4 separate regions of the Homo sapiens genome follow, and regions 2, 3 and 4 are each linked to region 1. Evidence: promoter capture Hi-C in 16 types of primary human blood cells and fetal thymus (Javierre and others, 2016). All regions are on one chromosome and are shown on one strand. The core of a region is centred on a gene start or on the middle of the fragment in contact, and the rest is flanking DNA. Distances in the headings are between cores, read along the strand shown. Region 1 holds the start of ACTG1 (actin gamma 1). Region 2 overlaps CBX2 (chromobox 2). Region 3 overlaps CBX4 (chromobox 4). Region 4 holds the start of LOC124904071 (a long non-coding RNA gene).

Region 1 (3,778 bases), core at 1,279-3,778:
CCCCAGGCCCAGCTGCCCGGCCCTCTCCGGCACTGGTTCCAGAAGGGTGGCGGCTGCCCTGCGCCACTGGCTTCCCAGAGCATATCCAGGACAGGCCCCGCGCGACCTTGGGCGAGGCCCCGCTGCTAAACAGAAAAATCACAGCGCGCGGTCCAGCCCCCTGCGCCCCGCGGGCTCCAGGCCTCGCCCTGCCCGCCCGCCCGCATCCCAGGGACAGGCAGACCCGCATCCCCGCCGCCGTCGGTCCCGGGACTCCCCAGGCTCCGAGGCCCCCCACGCCCGGCTCCCGCCCCGACCCCTCGGAGGCGCCGGGCCACTCCTACGCCCCGAGGCTGCCCGGCCGCCGCCCCTCTGTCCCGCGCGCCAATCGGCGGCCTCCTTGACTAAATAAGGCCAGGAGCGCCGGGCGGGCGCCCCCCGTCCGTTACTTCCGCCCCCCGCCCGCCGTGACTCAGGCCCGGCGGCGGGCGGGGATGGCGCTGCCCCGGGCCGGGCTTCCCGGCGGAGGCGGGCGGGGCTCCGGCGGCGCCGAAGTCGCCAAATATGGCCGCGCCACCGCCCCCCGCCGCGTACCTGGGCCACACCTTGACCCCTGCCGCGTGACGCGGCCGCGGAGGAGGAAGTCGCTCTCCACCCCCGGCCCGCGGCGGCGTCCCCTCCCCGCCCCTCCCCGCGGCTCAGGCCCTGCGGGTGGCGGGGAACCCGGGGGTCTCGAGGCGCCAGCCTCGCCCCCGCCCCCACGACCCTGGCGGCCTCGGGTCCGCAACGTGGGGAAGAAAGGTGGGGGACGGGGACGCGCGCCCGGGGCCGGCACCTCCCCGCACTTCCTAGACAAAGAAGCTTCGGAGGAGACCAGAGACCCGGAGGGGCAGGGTCCCCGGCCGGCCCGGAGCAGAACGTAGTGTGGGGTGAACGCAGGATGGAGGGGCTTGTGGCTATTCCCCACCCGCCTCGTGTCCCTCGGTGTGTGACGTCGCATCTTGGGACCCCCCAAGTGGAAGTCCTCACCCGGGGGTCGAGCAGGCTGTGTGGTTCTGCCCAGGGACGCGAGTCCGGGTGGGTCTGTTGGAGGCCCAGCCCCGGCTTCGCCACGGGAGGGAACATACCTGACAGCCTTGCCCGGGCCCCCGGAGATTCTGGGCCTGGGGGCGCTCAGCACCCCTGGGAGGCCTGGGGCACGGGGGCCTTAGGCACGGGTCTCGGCGTCCGGGCTGACTGCAGCCCGCAGGTGAGCTGGGCCGGCCGCCTTGCCCTGACTCGCTGTTGTCACTCCCAAACACGGGGTCGCGAGCTAACGTTGCAGGGCCCCGGACTCCGCGTGGGGACCCCGGCCCCGCCCCCCAGCCTGTCGAGTCAATCTGAACGCTCTGCGACCTCGGGCGAGTCCGTCCCCTCACTGCGCGGCCTCACTGCCACCCCTACGCGGCCGGCGCTCCAACCCTGAAAATTCCAGCAGCGCACAAGGAAACCGTAGTGCCGGGCGCCTCTCGGGGTGTAACCAAAGCACCGGCGCCGCTCCTGGCGAGGAGTGAGCGCCCTGGACAAGCCTGTGGCTAAACCCACGCCAGCCCTGATCGCTGCTCTTAACTAGCATCGTAAACAGAAGAGGGTATCCCCCCGACCGCCCGAAGCTGGGGAGCCGACCTTCAAAAAAGTCAGGGCTCCCATTGTCTACCTCAGTTTCCCTATAATGTCTACAGGTGACCAGAATGAAACAAAGGCCTCACTCCACACCACCTTCTCAGCACATAAGGGGGCGGGGTAGCCCCAACCCGGAGCGCGCGCCTGGGGACAATCAGGCCTGTGATTTGAGGGGCAGGGATGTGTCGGGTCGGGTAGAAAGGGGCCTCGGTCTTCAAACGAACGGAGATCCGGGGCAGGGCGCCCCGTGGAGGGACCTGCATGGTGGTGGCTGCGCTTGGGGACGGGCGGGCTGTTTCCTATGGTGACCGGGGCGAGGTGAGGGCTCCTGAGAGCTCCCCCGCGCCCAGGGACGCAGAGCGTCGCGGACCCCCGCCGCGCCCCTTCCTCAGCCCGGCACTGGCGCCCGAGATCCTCGTGGAGCCCGAGGGGAAAGATTGCAAGGGACGTCCCAGGGAGCAAAGCCCCGCAGCGTGGCCGGGGACTCGGGGACCCACCCCAGCTCCGGCGCGGCCCCGCCCCGGGTCAGGCAGTTTCGGGGCGCAGCAGGGCCCTCCCCACGGCGCGGCAGTCCCGGGGAGGGGCCAGGCCCGTCAGCCCTTCGGCCCTCCCGGCGACCCTCGGAGGGCGCCCCAACTCAGACCCGCCCGCCGGCCCGCGCAGGGTCGCGAGCGCGCGGGGGTGGCGCGGGCGGGGCCGTTGGGAGGCGGTGCGGGCTGGGGGCGGGGCGGGCCGGGGCCCCACGTGTCCCTGCCCGGCGGGCCAATGGGTGCCCGGCTTTCGGAAAGATCGCCATATATGGACATGTTCTGGGGCCGCGCGCGCCGCCGGGCCGCGCGGGCGCGCCGCTTCCGCTTAAATAACGGCGGGGGAGGCCGCGGTCGGTCTCAGTCGCCGCTGCCAGCTCTCGCACTCTGTTCTTCCGCCGCTCCGCCGTCGCGTTTCTCTGCCGGTGAGCGCCCCGCCCCGGGGCCTGAGCTGGACGTCGCAGGCCTGCGCCCCCCGACCCCGGCTGGCCCCGCTTCCAGCTGCCGAGGCCTCGTCGCGCCTTCCCCGGGAACAAAAGGCGGGGTGGGCCGGGTCAGGCGGACGGGGCTGGGGGGGCGCCGGGGGTCCAGGGCGGGGCCCGGCCGCAGTGCAGACTTCCGAGCCGTGGACGTTACGTAAAAGGCCCGGCCTTCGGTTCCAGGCGGTTGCGATCTTGGAGGCCACGGCCGCTGGGGTTGGGGCAGGGCCGAGGCTTCCCCGCGGGAGGGCATTAGGTGGCTGTGGGGAGGGGACCGTGTTACAGACGCGCCCGCCTGAGTCCATCCTTTTCCGGGCAGGTCGCAATGGAAGAAGAGATCGCCGCGCTGGTCATTGACAATGGCTCCGGCATGTGCAAAGCTGGTTTTGCTGGGGACGACGCTCCCCGAGCCGTGTTTCCTTCCATCGTCGGGCGCCCCAGACACCAGGTGAGTGGATGGCGCCGCGGGGCTCCTGGGTTCTGCGTTGCGGGGTGGGTTCGGTGTCGCCGGCGAGGCTGACGGGTCGTCCCCTGCAGGGCGTCATGGTGGGCATGGGCCAGAAGGACTCCTACGTGGGCGACGAGGCCCAGAGCAAGCGTGGCATCCTGACCCTGAAGTACCCCATTGAGCATGGCATCGTCACCAACTGGGACGACATGGAGAAGATCTGGCACCACACCTTCTACAACGAGCTGCGCGTGGCCCCGGAGGAGCACCCAGTGCTGCTGACCGAGGCCCCCCTGAACCCCAAGGCCAACAGAGAGAAGATGACTCAGGTGAGGCTCGGCCGACGCCCGTGCTCCTCCCGTCCTTTCCCCAGTCATTTTCTGCCCGGCTTGATTTCTGACATTTAAGTGTTTCTTTCGCTGTTCCAGGCTCTGTTCCTCTCCCGGCATTTCCTCCCTGAAGCCTCCAGGTTTCTCATTTGGTTTCTGCCTGCGTTCTTTTCTTTTCTCCACACATCACACTGGCATGCAGCATGTTGTGGCGTGTGAGCATGGGGTGGCCGTGGGTCTCTGTCCCTGACTAAGCCGCCCCTTGTCCCTTCTCAGATTATGTTTGAGACCTTCAACACCCCGGCCATGTACGTGGCCATCCAGGCCGTGCTGTCCCTCTACGCCTCTGGGCGC
Region 2 (4,093 bases), core at 746-3,245, 1.7 Mb after region 1:
CTTCTCTCAGTACTCATCCCGTCCTCCCGCCCCCATCCTCGCCCCCATCGCGGGGGCACCGTTCCTGCAAAGGCCCTTCCCCAACTGGGGAACCCACCTGGCTGGGATAGAGGTGGGCGTGGGAGGCCGCTGGGGCAGACTCCCCTCAGCCCGTCCGGGGGAATCCGTGGCTCTCCGCACCTACTGGCTGCACTTCTTCGGGCCCCGGGCAGAATCTGGGGATCCCGGGAGGATGCGCCTGAGGTCGGGGGTTCCACTTTCCTCTGGCGGGATCCTCCAGCGCGCCACACCCCCAGGCCGGAGGCGTCTGGTCTCCGAGGCCCCGGGGCCTCGCCGCGTTAGCCAAAGCCTCCCGGTGCCAGCCCCTCGTAGCTGTCTTGAGACCCACTCCCCAGACCCACCCAACCTTGCTAGCGCTCCCCTAAATGCAGAGCCTCGCGCCTATTGATTGAGGAATTGAATTCGCGGGTATTGCTAGGCAACTGCAAGCTCGGAGCCGGCGCAGAGCGCTGCTGATGTGATTAGTGAACCTGGAGCCGCCGCGCCGCAGCCCCGCGCACCCCCGCCCCCGAGTCCCCGCAGCCTCTCCGGCCCAGGTCTCCTGGGCGGGCCTAAACCCCAGCGCTGGGCAAGGGACGGTGCGGGAGAGCAGAGTGCGGGGTGGGGGGTGGAGAGAGAGATGTTCTTGGCCTTTTCTGGCCGCAGACTTCACAGCAGTGGGGGCGGGGTCTTGAAGCCCGCACAGGAGAGCCACTCTTCGGATCCCCAAAGAGGCCACCGCACTAAACCCATTTCTACTTCCGTAGTGCCCCGCAGACGTCACCCTGCCAGGAAGCCACGATTCAGGCTCACCCCTAACGCCCACCAGGAGGAACATGGACAGGGGTAGCTCACGCATCTCCAGCCCCTTGCTGAGGAGTCAGTGGCCCGGCCCTTGGCAGAGCTTCCCCCTTCCCCAGCTGTGACCGGTGTGGGAGGGCGCGGGAGGACAGCAGCGTCCTGCTGCCCAGGCCCAGGTTAGCGGGTCACAGAGCCTTGAGTGTCCTTCCGACGTGAGGGCCTGCGCTGCCGGCCGAGTAGGGTCGCTGGCCGCCAGGCGTCAAAGATCTCCGCCCGAGACTGCCCCACCGCAACGGGCGGTCTCTGTGCTGGCAGGGGACGTCAAGGGAAGGTGGGTGGGGTGGCCCCGCGATGGTCGCCACTTGGACGGGGCTCCCTCCTGCGTCCACTCGGACGGGGCTCCCTCCTGCGTCCACTCCTGGGCGTGTGGGGCAGTGGAATGGGCTACTGCTTAAGCGGATGGGAGGGCGCCCACCCTGCCCCTTTTTCGGGTTCGCTGGCCATCACCACCCTCGGCTTTGAGGAGCGCCCTCACGGGTTTCCATTTCCTGGGCAGAGTCCCTGGGAATCCGCCACAACTGCAGAGACCAGGCGTGCGTGGCGGCCTCCAGCCGGACTGGTTACCTTGCGTCCCGAGGACAGGGCTGGCTTGTGTGGCCACCGCGGCGGGGAACCTGGCCTCGCACAAACATTGGTTGGATTGGAAGGTTCATGCTCTTCCTAGAGTGTCGGATCGGATTCATTTTCTGTCCGTTTGATGCTGGCTTCGCACCAATCCTGATCCAGGCACTGTGCCATGCGCCCGGGCCGCTGGCGCACAGACCTGTCCCGGCCCTCTGGGGCTCCTGTGCTGGTTTCCTCTTCTCCTCTAAAAGCCCTCCAGGCCCAGAGGAGCCTCGGACCCAGCTGAAGTCCGAGACTGGCGTGGCTCGGGGCCCGGCGGGACTCCGTGCTGTCCGTCGTGGAAGGCGGCTGCCCGCAGCCTCGGGTCCTGAACGCGGCGAGAGAGGCTGCGGGCTGGGTCGGGGCTTTCCTCCTGAGACTTCGGAGGCGGAGGTGGCCGGGGTGCAGGTGGTGCGATTGAGTCTCGGGCACCCTGGAGCCGCGGCTGGCTTTTCCCTCGTCCGTCCGAAGGGCCGGCGGCCGACCTTGGTGGGACGCGCGCGCCCTCTGCAGGTGGCGGCGTCGGCCCGGGTCGCCGGCGCCCACCCCTTACCCCCGGGGGGCCGGTGGCTTTCTGGTTCCGAACCCGAGCTGAGAAAGCCTTACCTCCCCCCGACCCAAAGGTACCGCTGGGCGCCCACCGCCACGGGCGCCCCCTCTGCGTCCTCCCTGAGGCCCGGCGCTCGAGCCACGAAGGCGGAGGGGAGGAAGGAGAGGTCCAGCCGCCCGGATGACCGTCCTCCCAGCCCCTCCGCACCCATCGCTCCCGGTGCCCTCGGGCAGGTCGCGGCGGCGTGGGGTCGGGCCATTGGCAGCCCAGTCTGTTCTTCTCAGGGTCCACTGGATTAGGCGATCACATCAGCGGCGCCGAAACTAACAAAGGCCGAGCGAGCTCGGCCCGGCACCCGTCGGGCCGAATCCCTGTAGAAATGGGCTCTCCCGAAAGCCTGGCTCCACATCCGGGGCCGCGCCTGCTCCTGCTCGGCCAGCTTGCTCCTTCCTGGCGGTCCCAGCCCCTTTCTGCAGCTCTCATAAGCCAGAGGACAGGCCCGCTGGGGTCGCCCTTGCCCACTTTCTCCAAAAGGAAACAGCCAGAGCCTTGCGAAGGCAGCAAAAGAGAGCCCACCAGCAGTCTTCTTTCTCTGCAACAGTCGATTTCGAATTCGCAGGACTTCCTGGAGCGGGCTAGTGCTGGGGGTCACATTTCCATTTGCAGGGGGAACCCTTTCCTGAACCAAAACATTCAGGCCTTGGCCCCAAGTAGCTTTTCACCCAGTTACTCCAACATCTAGGCCCAGCTTCTCTCTTCACTTCAAAGAAGCTCTATTCTCCCTGGAGGCTGGAATTCATGAATAAATTCATGCTGAAGTTGGTGGAAGCCTTAAGGAGCCGGGGAAGGTTCTGTAATAAGCAAATCGCCTCTTTATTCGCGAGCTTTGGGTTAGGAGTTGCAGTAGCTGCTAACTCACAGTGACTCCCCTGGAATTTTATGGCTGCCTCCTTGTAAAGCATTATTAGCACATGTGGTGGCTTCAAGGGGTTGAGTGGCTTTCCAACACAGCATCTCTGGATACTGTGGGCGCGGGGAGAGGGAGTTTTATTTTAACTTTGCATGTCTTTTGAAGGGAGCAGTCTCAAAATGAGTTGATTATATATTGCAGCATCCCTGACCTCACCTGACAGATGCCGATAATGCCGCCCCTGCCCCCAACCCCTGCCATTGTGTTTTTTCTGTTTTTCCCATTAATTCAGTCTCTCAAACTCAGCACTACTGACGTGCTGGGAAGGATCATTTCTTTCTGTCATGGAGACTGTTCTGTGCACCTCAGGACGTCTAGCAGCACTCCTGGTATCCACCCACTAGATGCAAGTGGCATCCACCCCACAGCGTGACAAGCAAGATCTCCAGATCTGCAAGTGTTCCCTGGAATGCCAGTTGTTCTCTGTTGTGAGCCACTGGTATATGGACTCTTAAACACCCATCCTTTGCTTGGAAACATATCTTTTTCTGCACCCTCTGCAAGTGGCCTTTCCCAGTCTTTGATTTTTCTGTGCCCCAAGTATTTGGCCTATGTCCAGACGAATTATTTTGCCTCAAGAAAGGAAAAGAGCAGAGTCTACTGTGTTTCCAGGGATCACTCATGATGTACATCAGGCCAAATTTTTTTTTTAAAAATTTATTGATATACTAAGAGATAACAAAAGGACAAAAATCTTCTGACGCCATTTGCTGTCCTTCCCCTGCAAAATAAATTAACATCAGTCTAAAAGAAGAAAAAACCCTGCAACCTATGCTAGTTTTCCAAAAATGCTAGAAAACCCACAGAATCATGAGATGCACTTGAGTAAAATCTGGTCATGTAGGCACTACCTGTTCCCAACTCACCATTCCCCTTCCCCACACCATCAGGGGCTTTTTGGGGGAAGCATTTCCTTAAACTGGTTGATCCTAATTAAATGTGGGCCCTAGGCTGCTGTCCTGTTTCAACAGAGATCCTTTCCTAGGGCAATAACATATCTACTTTTGTTCTCTTTTAAGAAAGCAAACAGCCATAGTTGAAAGCAATTAGAAGTGGCATACATGAATGAT
Region 3 (4,420 bases), core at 606-3,105, 1.7 Mb after region 1:
TGCAGCTGCTGCAGCTGGGTTCGTCGCCGGTGGCTGTGGTTCTCTGTTTCGGAGAGGGTAGAAGGGGGAAGGGCGAGGAGGGGAGGAGCAGCCGGGGCCCTTGGAGCTCGGCCACCCCGCTGCCTTCCATCTCTCCTCCCCCTTTTATTTTGCACTATTTCCTGTGGCGCGTTTGGCGCTAAAACTGTAAACTGTAGACCCTCTGAGCTAGCCACCGGCGGGGCAGGGCAGTTGCCCTCCCGCAATGCAGGGGGGGCACGTAGCTGGGATCCTGCCCCATTCCACCTGGGAGTTCACCACCCTGTAACCATGTCAGCGGCTGATGCCACGTTGCATAATGGGTCCCTGAAGAATTAAAACGCAGGCTGTCGCAATGCCACGCAACTTCAGAGTCAGGCCCCGGCCCCCGCCCTGGGGCATGTCAGAACTCCCCAGGGTTGGTCCAAGGAGGCATGGGGGTGGTAGCTAGGGTCTGTGAGGAACCCGTTTCCGGCCCAGGAATGGGCTGCAACTTTGGCAGACACTAGAGAGGCATCCCACTCGTCCGTGGAGGGCTGGGTAGTGCCTGGGAAGATCCAGCCCCCAGCTGTGGATCACCCTTAGGCTGGCCTGCAGGCAGGAGCCTGGTGGCTGTAGTGACCGGTGCCTCCGCCCATGGGCTTTATTCATTATTTGGAAATTGAGGCAGCCAGGAGCCAGACTCCGAGGAGGAGGCGGTGCTTCTCTAAGCTGCTCCGGCCACGCCCACCTGCTCAGCTGGGAGGAGCGCAGCGTTCACCAGGTGGCCACAAACCTGGCCACACCCTGGCCTTGGTGGCCCGCCCCCGCCCCCAGCCCCTAATTGGCTCATTTGCCGCTGTGTAAACAAGGGCGCAGCCCCTCCCCCTGTTTAGTGCCTGGCCTTTAAGAAAGGGCCCTCCCTTCTGCCGGAGGCACTCGTTATCGGAATCTTAATGAGGTCATTAGCATCCCGCGCTTCTGACGGGAGGGATGAGGTCGGCGCACACCTCGCTTGGGCTGGTTTGTCTTCCCTGGATCCCCGTGTCCACTTTGCTTCGCACAGAGCCACAGGCCCAAGGCCGTGGGCAGGAGGGCCAGAGGTGCAGCCCTGAGCTTCTGCCTCCTGAGCACAGAGGTGGGGCTTGGGGGGGTGCTGGTTCGGGTGTGGGCATCAAAGTGGGGGAGCCCTTTGCCCAGGACCTCTTGGGCAGAGGAGGGTTGGTGTGAGGGTTAAGGGCGCAGAGGCCTGACCTGCCCTGAACTCTTGATTCCTGTGTCCGGCCAGCCCTACCTGATGCTCTCTGAAGCGGGGGGGGGGGCATCACAGAAGATTCCGGAATTAGCGGGTAGGGGGCGACCCTGAGGCTAACAGCACTGCCCTCTGTTCCCTCCCACCCAGGGAACGGCAGGAGCAGCTGATGGGATATCGGAAGAGAGGGCCGAAGCCCAAACCGCTAGTGGTGCAGGTGAATACACACGGCCGCCCCTGGGCACCCCCTTGACATGGCCACCAGAGCTGCCTCCAGGCCTGGGGATGGGGGGGGTGGTGGTGGTTCCTCCCAGCACCCTGACCCTGTTCCCTTTCTACTAGACCTCCCACCTCCTGCCCCCCATGAGGCAGCTGCGGACCTGGTGGGGGCTGGGACGCTCCAGAAACTCCCGGCATGCGGTGGGGCTGTCTCCTCCCTCCTCTCACCCCTGCACCCGTTCCCTCAGGTGCCTACCTTTGCCCGTCGTTCCAATGTCCTGACCGGCCTCCAGGACTCCTCCACTGACAACCGTGCCAAGCTGGATTTGGGCGCGCAGGGGAAGGGCCAGGGGCATCAGTACGAGCTCAACAGCAAGAAGCACCACCAGTACCAGCCGCACAGCAAGGAGCGGGCGGGCAAGCCCCCGCCGCCGGGCAAGAGCGGCAAGTACTACTACCAGCTCAACAGCAAGAAGCACCACCCCTACCAGCCCGACCCCAAAATGTACGACCTGCAGTACCAGGGCGGCCACAAGGAGGCGCCCAGCCCCACCTGCCCGGACCTGGGGGCCAAGAGCCACCCGCCCGACAAGTGGGCGCAAGGTGCGGGGGCCAAAGGCTACCTGGGGGCGGTGAAGCCCCTGGCCGGTGCGGCGGGTGCTCCAGGCAAAGGCTCCGAGAAGGGCCCCCCCAACGGAATGATGCCGGCCCCCAAAGAGGCTGTGACGGGCAACGGGATTGGGGGCAAGATGAAGATAGTCAAGAACAAGAACAAGAACGGACGCATCGTGATCGTGATGAGCAAATACATGGAGAACGGCATGCAGGCGGTGAAGATCAAGTCCGGCGAGGTGGCAGAGGGGGAGGCTCGCTCCCCCAGCCACAAGAAGCGGGCAGCCGACGAGCGCCACCCTCCTGCCGACAGGACTTTTAAAAAGGCGGCGGGCGCAGAGGAGAAGAAGGTGGAGGCGCCGCCCAAGAGGAGGGAGGAGGAGGTGTCCGGGGTTAGCGATCCGCAGCCCCAGGATGCCGGCTCCCGCAAGCTGTCCCCGACCAAGGAGGCCTTTGGAGAGCAGCCCCTGCAGCTCACCACCAAGCCCGACCTGCTTGCCTGGGACCCGGCCCGGAACACGCACCCGCCCTCACACCACCCGCACCCGCACCCCCATCACCACCACCACCACCACCACCACCACCACCACGCCGTCGGCCTGAATCTCTCCCACGTGCGCAAGCGCTGCCTCTCCGAGACCCACGGCGAGCGCGAGCCCTGCAAGAAGCGGCTGACTGCGCGCAGCATCAGCACCCCCACCTGCCTGGGGGGCAGCCCAGCCGCTGAGCGCCCGGCCGACCTGCCACCAGCCGCCGCCCTCCCGCAGCCCGAGGTCATCCTGCTAGACTCAGACCTGGATGAACCCATAGACTTGCGCTGCGTCAAGACGCGCAGCGAGGCCGGGGAGCCGCCCAGCTCCCTCCAGGTGAAGCCCGAGACACCGGCGTCGGCGGCGGTGGCGGTGGCGGCGGCAGCGGCACCCACCACGACGGCGGAGAAGCCTCCAGCCGAGGCCCAGGACGAACCTGCAGAGTCGCTGAGCGAGTTCAAGCCCTTCTTTGGGAATATAATTATCACCGACGTCACCGCGAACTGCCTCACCGTTACTTTCAAGGAGTACGTGACGGTGTAGCCGGAGGGCGTCGGAAGGGGAAGCGCCATTCCCGCGGGGGGGCGGGGAGCTGAGCACCTGGGGCCTCGGGGCGGGCTCCCCTCTCGCCAACCCGCCAACCGCGAGAGACCCAGGCTGGCCCCCAGGGTGAGGACGCCCGGAGCGGAGGTAACCATGTTCCCCCTGCGGCGGCTGTCAGACCTGGGCGGAGGCCCCTTCCACGCGGTGCCGGCGGGGCTCGCCCTCTCCTGCCCTTCCCCGCTGGAGATGGACCCCCGGAACGGACAGGGCAGCTCTGCGCCCGGCCTCAGAGTTCTAGTATTATATTTTAACCGTGCTAACTTGTCAAGTGCTGACTCTACTCCCGTTTGTACGTGGTGTTATTATTGAAATGTATTGTTTGAGCTCAAAAGGCCCGACCACCCCCCTTCGGGCTGCTATATATATATTTATTTGTAGGTATTTATATATTGAAATATAAAAACCTAGATTTATGGAGTTTCCTCTAGATCATGTTATATTCTATATCAGACAAACTATTTTCTTTTGACCTTTCTTCCCCTCCATCCAGTATTTCGGTTGATTTCATTTTCTCCCCTCTCTTCCCCTTCCACGAACTGCAATACCAGTAACCTTGGTATATATTTTTTGATACTGTACACATGGATGTCTTGTTTCTATGTGCAAAAAAAAAAAAAAAAAAAAGTTTGTTAAAAGGCTACACGAGCTCTCTAGAAACTGCTGCTACTAGAAATGTCTAAACTATAAGCTTCCAACTATTACCTGCTTGAATGTAAATATTAAATGGAGATGTTGAAGGTGCATTTTCGCTGTTTGAGATGAGCGGACCCCTCTCGCCACCAACTCCGCCTTCGAGCCCTGTGCTGAACCTTTGCACCAGCGAAGTGGGCTGGTTTTGCGGGCCGCGGCGCCGGCGCAGGAGGGTGACCCCGCTCCCTGGGAAGTCGAGAGGCGCCCGGCTGGGAAGGGGAATTCCTGCGGGGGGGTGGGTGTGGGAGCCGTCCCCGCCCCCAGGGCTTTCCGGCCGGCGGTGCCCAAGGCACTGGCAAACCCTGGGTTCTGGGTAGGGGAGGAGGGGGTGCAGGGGTGGGCGGCGCGGACACGCGGGTGGGGCTAGTCTCCCTCGCGGCACCCACTGGGCAGCGGCTGACCTTTGGCTCTCCTCCCCCGTAGCCTCCACCCCTGGGGCTCAACACACCCAGGCGCAAGCCCTGGCGGGGCAGGGAGGTTCCTTCTTAATAATCGCGCCCGGTAGGGCAGGTTCCGC
Region 4 (4,106 bases), core at 903-3,402, 1.7 Mb after region 1:
GCATCCGGGCCTTCCCGCTCCTCCGCCGTTGCTCGCCGGGTTTGGGGAGGGGGTGCGTGGGGTGGGAGTGGGAGCGTGCGCGGAGCGGGAGAGGACAGGCCAAGCGGCCACGGGAGAAGAATGACAACGAGGCAAAGGGAGGAGGAAGGCCGCGGGAAGAAAAATTGGGGAGAGGGTACAGGCAAAAAGGGGGGTTAAGCAACGAAGGGGGTGCGGAGGCGAGGAGCGGAGATACCCGGGGAGAAAGAAAGGGAGGGGGCGGGGAGCGGGCGGGGGCGGCTGGCTGGTTTCCACTCGTGAGAGCCGGTTGCCGAGAGACGCGCGGGCCAATGAGCGCGCACCAGCTCAGCCCGGCGCCCGCCGCGTGCCCTTATATGGTGCGGCCGCTCGGCGGGCGCTCGCGCACATCGCCATATAAGGGCAGGAACCTAAATACAGGCTATACCTTGTTCTCCGCTCGCCCGGCCGCGGCCCCGGCGATCGATGAGCGCGCCGCCGAGCGGGCTGCGGCGCGCGGGCCCCGGGAGCCGGCGGGGAGGGGGCCGCGGCGGCCGTTCAGCCCGGGCCAGATGTGGCCGGCGCAATGGCTGCCCGGCCAGCTGCAGCGCTCGGAAGGTGCCACTCGCCGCCGCCGCGCTCCCCATCCTTTCCCTCTCCCCCTGCCCCCCCATTTGGAGGTGCAAATGCAGATGAACCGGGATTGAAATCTAATTGCTTTTGTTTAAAAAAATGTGAGCCAGTCCGTGTTGAGTTTGAGCAGACGCCTGGGATCCCGGCAAACCAAGCAGAACGCCTGGGGGAGAGAAGGGGAAAAGCCCTAGGGTCTGGGCGGGGGGCGGGGGCCGGGGGGAGGCGCCGGTAGAGTGCTGCGTGGAGCCTCAGCGCCAGGAGGCCGGGAACAGTGGCCACGAGGACCCACTGGCTCTGTGCCCTGGAGGCGCGGGCGGCCTGGAGCCAGCCAGGTGGTGGAAGGGAGAGGTGAGAGGTGTCGCTGTCACACCTTTCTTCTCTGTCGCTGTGCCAGCCCTGCTCCTGACGGCAGGCTGCAAGAGGCTGGGGGGATAGGGGACAGGCCCCCCAGCTCGGAAGATTGAAGCCATCAGGGCCGGATCTGGGCAAGGAAGGAGTCATCTCAGGGATTCTCTGCCAGAGGGGCGGTGGGTCCTGGGTGAAGCCTCCTGAGATCCTGGTCTCCTTGGTCAGATTGACGCCTGCCTGTGCTGGTGACCTCAGTGTCCGTCTCGAACAGGACGCCCCACTTGCTTTCCCTCTCCCCACTTCTGGCTGGTCTGTTTGCCCACGGAAGAGGAGTCTGAGCTGCCCCTGCAAGGGTCTGGACGGTGAAAGTGGCCCCAGGATGTCCAGGGAGTGTGGAGGGGCCTCTCTGGCTAGGACACGTGGTGCACTGACCCAGTTCTCTCACGCAGCCTGGTGGCAAGGCGACTTGGTGCAGGTGTATGCTGTTGTAGACCTAGTGGTAGCCCGCCTAGCACCCCCACCAGGTGCACAGTGAGGCCTTTACCTCCCACGGGTGGCAGAAGGCAGGAGAGACCCCCGACACCCACAGGCCCCAAGGCCTCACCGGTGGATGGCACGGAAGAAGCTTATGCACCTGGAGCAGTGGCCCCTAATATGGAGAGGACTGTCCCTCAGCACATACCCATCGCCCCTCAGGTGTCCTTCTCCGCGCAGTTTAGACTGTGATTGTGTCAACCTTGCCTCGGCTCGCCAGTGCCTGGAGATGCTGACAAGAGAGCCTCTTTCTCCAAGGAGGCCATTTCCAGTAGCATGATGCCACCTATAGAATGTACCTGGAATTAGTCTGAGCTGCAGCCTTGCTGCCAGCAGTGTGGGGCTGGAGGGAGGAGCACACCTTAGATTGTTCCTCGCCAGAGTTGAGCCTGGAATGGTAGCCTAGTCACACAGGCCTTCCCCTGGAGTCCTCCTCTTGCCACCCTGTGTCTCCTAGTAGGTATTTGGTAGCTCTGGGCCTGGCATCATTGGGAAAATGGTGGCCAGTACCCGGTGTATCTGGGACAGGAATCTGCCACTCCTACTAGGAGTCCCTAGCTTCTTGGGCAGGCACAAACTCCAGGGTTCTGTGTACTGCCCTGGGCATGTGCATCAGTGGTCAGCACTCAACAGTCAACAAGTATTTCCAAAAGGTTCAGGAAAACCCTCATATGCCTACACGAATGATCTCGAGGTGTCGAACATGGAGACCAGACTGGCGGCCCCAAGGCTGCCTGCTCCGAATGCTGGTTTTGCAGGGAGAAAGAGAGAGACTTGTCCAAGGTAACCCAGTTAGCCAGGGGCAGAGCAAGCCTGGATTTCATTCCCAATCCACTGTTTTATGCATTATGCAGGTGCATCTCAGCAGCAGCCCAGGCATGGGCTTCTGTGTCAATGTGGCTTGTCAATCCTGGAACCCAGGAGCCCTAGCATGGGGACTTGAAACTGACTACCATTGATCTCAGCCAGTCCTACTCCCTGAGCAGCTGGACAGAGGCTGGAAAAGCCAGTGGGTCTCTGGTCTCAGGCTGCTAAGCTCCTGGTCCCGCCAAAGGCTGGGATTGGCCATAGCCAGTGACATTGCCACAGGCTGCTCTTCATGCCAAGCTCCAAACCCTAGCGCAGCACAGCCATGCCCGGCTCCCCTAGGTGCCTGGTTCCACACCAGCAAGAGCTACCCTGAAGCTTCCCCTTAGGCTCCTCAACTCTTGGGTGACAGATTTAGGTTGAGCTCTGTCCTGTGACTTAACTTGGTCATTAACAAGTTACTTAACCCTCTGAGCCTGTGTCTTCATCTTTAAATGGAGCCTCCCTCTAAGGGTTGTGATGAGGAATAGAAGCAGAGTCCCGTAAACCTCCAGCACAAAGCCTGGCTCAGAGCAGCCCTCACTCAGCGGATGGTGGCTACATCTGTCCACTCCCAGCACTCTGGTACACCCTCTTGTGCCAGGCTAGATACCAATGGGATACAAACACCATAACACATCATGTCCATTTGAGCCACTGTAGAAACAGGTATTCCCAGCACTCCCTCGCAGATGCCGTGATGAGTGGTTGGTGGGTATCAGATCCAACCCCCTTCCTGCCCTTGCACACTTTCTTCCAGTCCTGCCTAGCTCCACCCTCTGCCCTGCCCTGCCCCCTGTGACAATCCAGGGCCCTGCAACCCTTCACACACCACTTCCCAGGGCATCCTTGGAACTGCCATGTAGACAGCCCCAGAAACTTTCCTTCCAGGGAAGGGGATGCGTGAACCCACAGAAGCTGCGGAAGAAACCGAGCCTAGGACTCCTTTCTCATCTTGGAAAAACAGCAAGTGTGTGTGTGTGTGTGTGTGTGTGTGTGTGTGTAGTATGGAGTCCTGCTTTCCTGGGATCCTGTGGGTCCATTACAGATGCCTGTCATAGCAACAAAATGGGAAAGAACTGGCCCATTCTGCAGGTGGGACCACTGATTTCCAGGAGAGAGACCTGATCTTGTGGTGCAAGCACGTGAGGCACTTCCCCAGATTCCACTGGCCACTAGTCCCACGATTTGAAGGGACGGGCAGTCAGTGTTGAGAGAGGCAGCTGGTGAGGCACCTGGGTTAGACTGCAGGTGCCGAAGGACCCAACAGGAGCTGTGGGAGAAAGTGACTCAGTCTTGCCCTGTCTTGCCGTGGCAAATCATCTCCCCCAACATCCACTCCTGTCTTTCTCCCCTTTTCTTTCCCTACACTCGATGCCCTCACTCTGGGAACGACATCTCTGTGATCTCTGCCAGCGATGGCCCCACCTGCTCCTGAAGACCCTCGACTCCCCCATGCCCACCTGTGCCCACCTTCTTCATTTCGGCTGGACACCACTGCACACCAGACTTGTGCAAAGTGAGGGTCAGACTTGGGGATATGCTCTTAGATGTTCCCGACTCCTGAGAGGGACCTGTACCCACCCCGCTGTCCCTCACTGGGGAGCTGTAAGACCACTCCAAGGCTGAAGCCCAGTGTCCTGCACCCCTATCCAGTGGACACCCTTCCCATTGCTCAGGCCCTTCCAGGCTGAATGGCGCCCCCCTCAAGAGGAGAGGTCCAACCCCTCCCCTCAGCTTGGGACAGA

What was found. Contacts are between HindIII fragments. The CHiCAGO score rates a contact against its expected background, and 5 or more counts as called.
Region 2: a fragment that was not itself captured here is called in contact with the fragment with the promoter of ACTG1 in region 1 in 1 of 17 cell types (total B cells); the score reaches 7.8 in total B cells.
Region 3: a contact is called between a fragment that was not itself captured here and the fragment with the promoter of ACTG1 in region 1, in 2 of 17 cell types (total B cells and naive B cells). The highest score is 5.5, in total B cells.
Region 4: a fragment that was not itself captured here is called in contact with the fragment with the promoter of ACTG1 in region 1 in 2 of 17 cell types (naive B cells and total B cells); the score reaches 12.5 in naive B cells.

The regions. Positions count from the first base shown.
Region 1 is chr17:81,511,549-81,515,326 of GRCh38, reverse strand. ACTG1 (actin gamma 1) reads left to right here and starts at 2,528. Exons shown (of 6, transcript NM_001614.5): 1 at 2,528-2,593; 2 at 2,967-3,095; 3 at 3,185-3,424; 4 at 3,701-3,778. The coding sequence starts at 2,973. It also overlaps a transcript of FSCN2 not described here. RefSeq lists silencers at 43-92, 163-882, 1,103-1,292, 1,923-2,402, 2,603-2,772 and enhancers at 1-280, 1,423-1,472, 1,503-1,782, 2,993-3,082. The HindIII fragment of the contact is 3,930 bases long and covers 843-3,778 here.
Region 2 is chr17:79,787,960-79,792,052 of GRCh38, reverse strand. It overlaps CBX2 (chromobox 2), which reads right to left. Exons shown (of 5, transcript NM_005189.3): 5 at 4,070-4,093. Among named protein-coding and RNA genes, the nearest start is that of CBX8, 7.1 kb to the left of the region's middle. RefSeq lists an enhancer at 476-1,285 and a silencer at 1,947-2,096. The HindIII fragment of the contact is 4,309 bases long and covers 1-4,093 here.
Region 3 is chr17:79,832,692-79,837,111 of GRCh38, reverse strand. CBX4 (chromobox 4) reads left to right here. Exons shown (of 5, transcript NM_003655.3): 4 at 1,400-1,466; 5 at 1,717-3,956. The coding sequence ends at 3,153. Among named protein-coding and RNA genes, the nearest start is that of CBX4, 4.5 kb to the left of the region's middle. RefSeq lists enhancers at 303-1,124, 2,040-2,089, 4,417-4,420. The HindIII fragment of the contact is 4,097 bases long and covers 1-3,903 here.
Region 4 is chr17:79,806,541-79,810,646 of GRCh38, reverse strand. It overlaps LOC124904071 (a long non-coding RNA gene), which reads right to left and starts at 2,050. Exons shown (of 2, transcript XR_007065928.1): 1 at 1,661-2,050. RefSeq lists silencers at 176-295, 496-575 and an enhancer at 1,385-1,514. The HindIII fragment of the contact is 1,094 bases long and covers 1,606-2,699 here.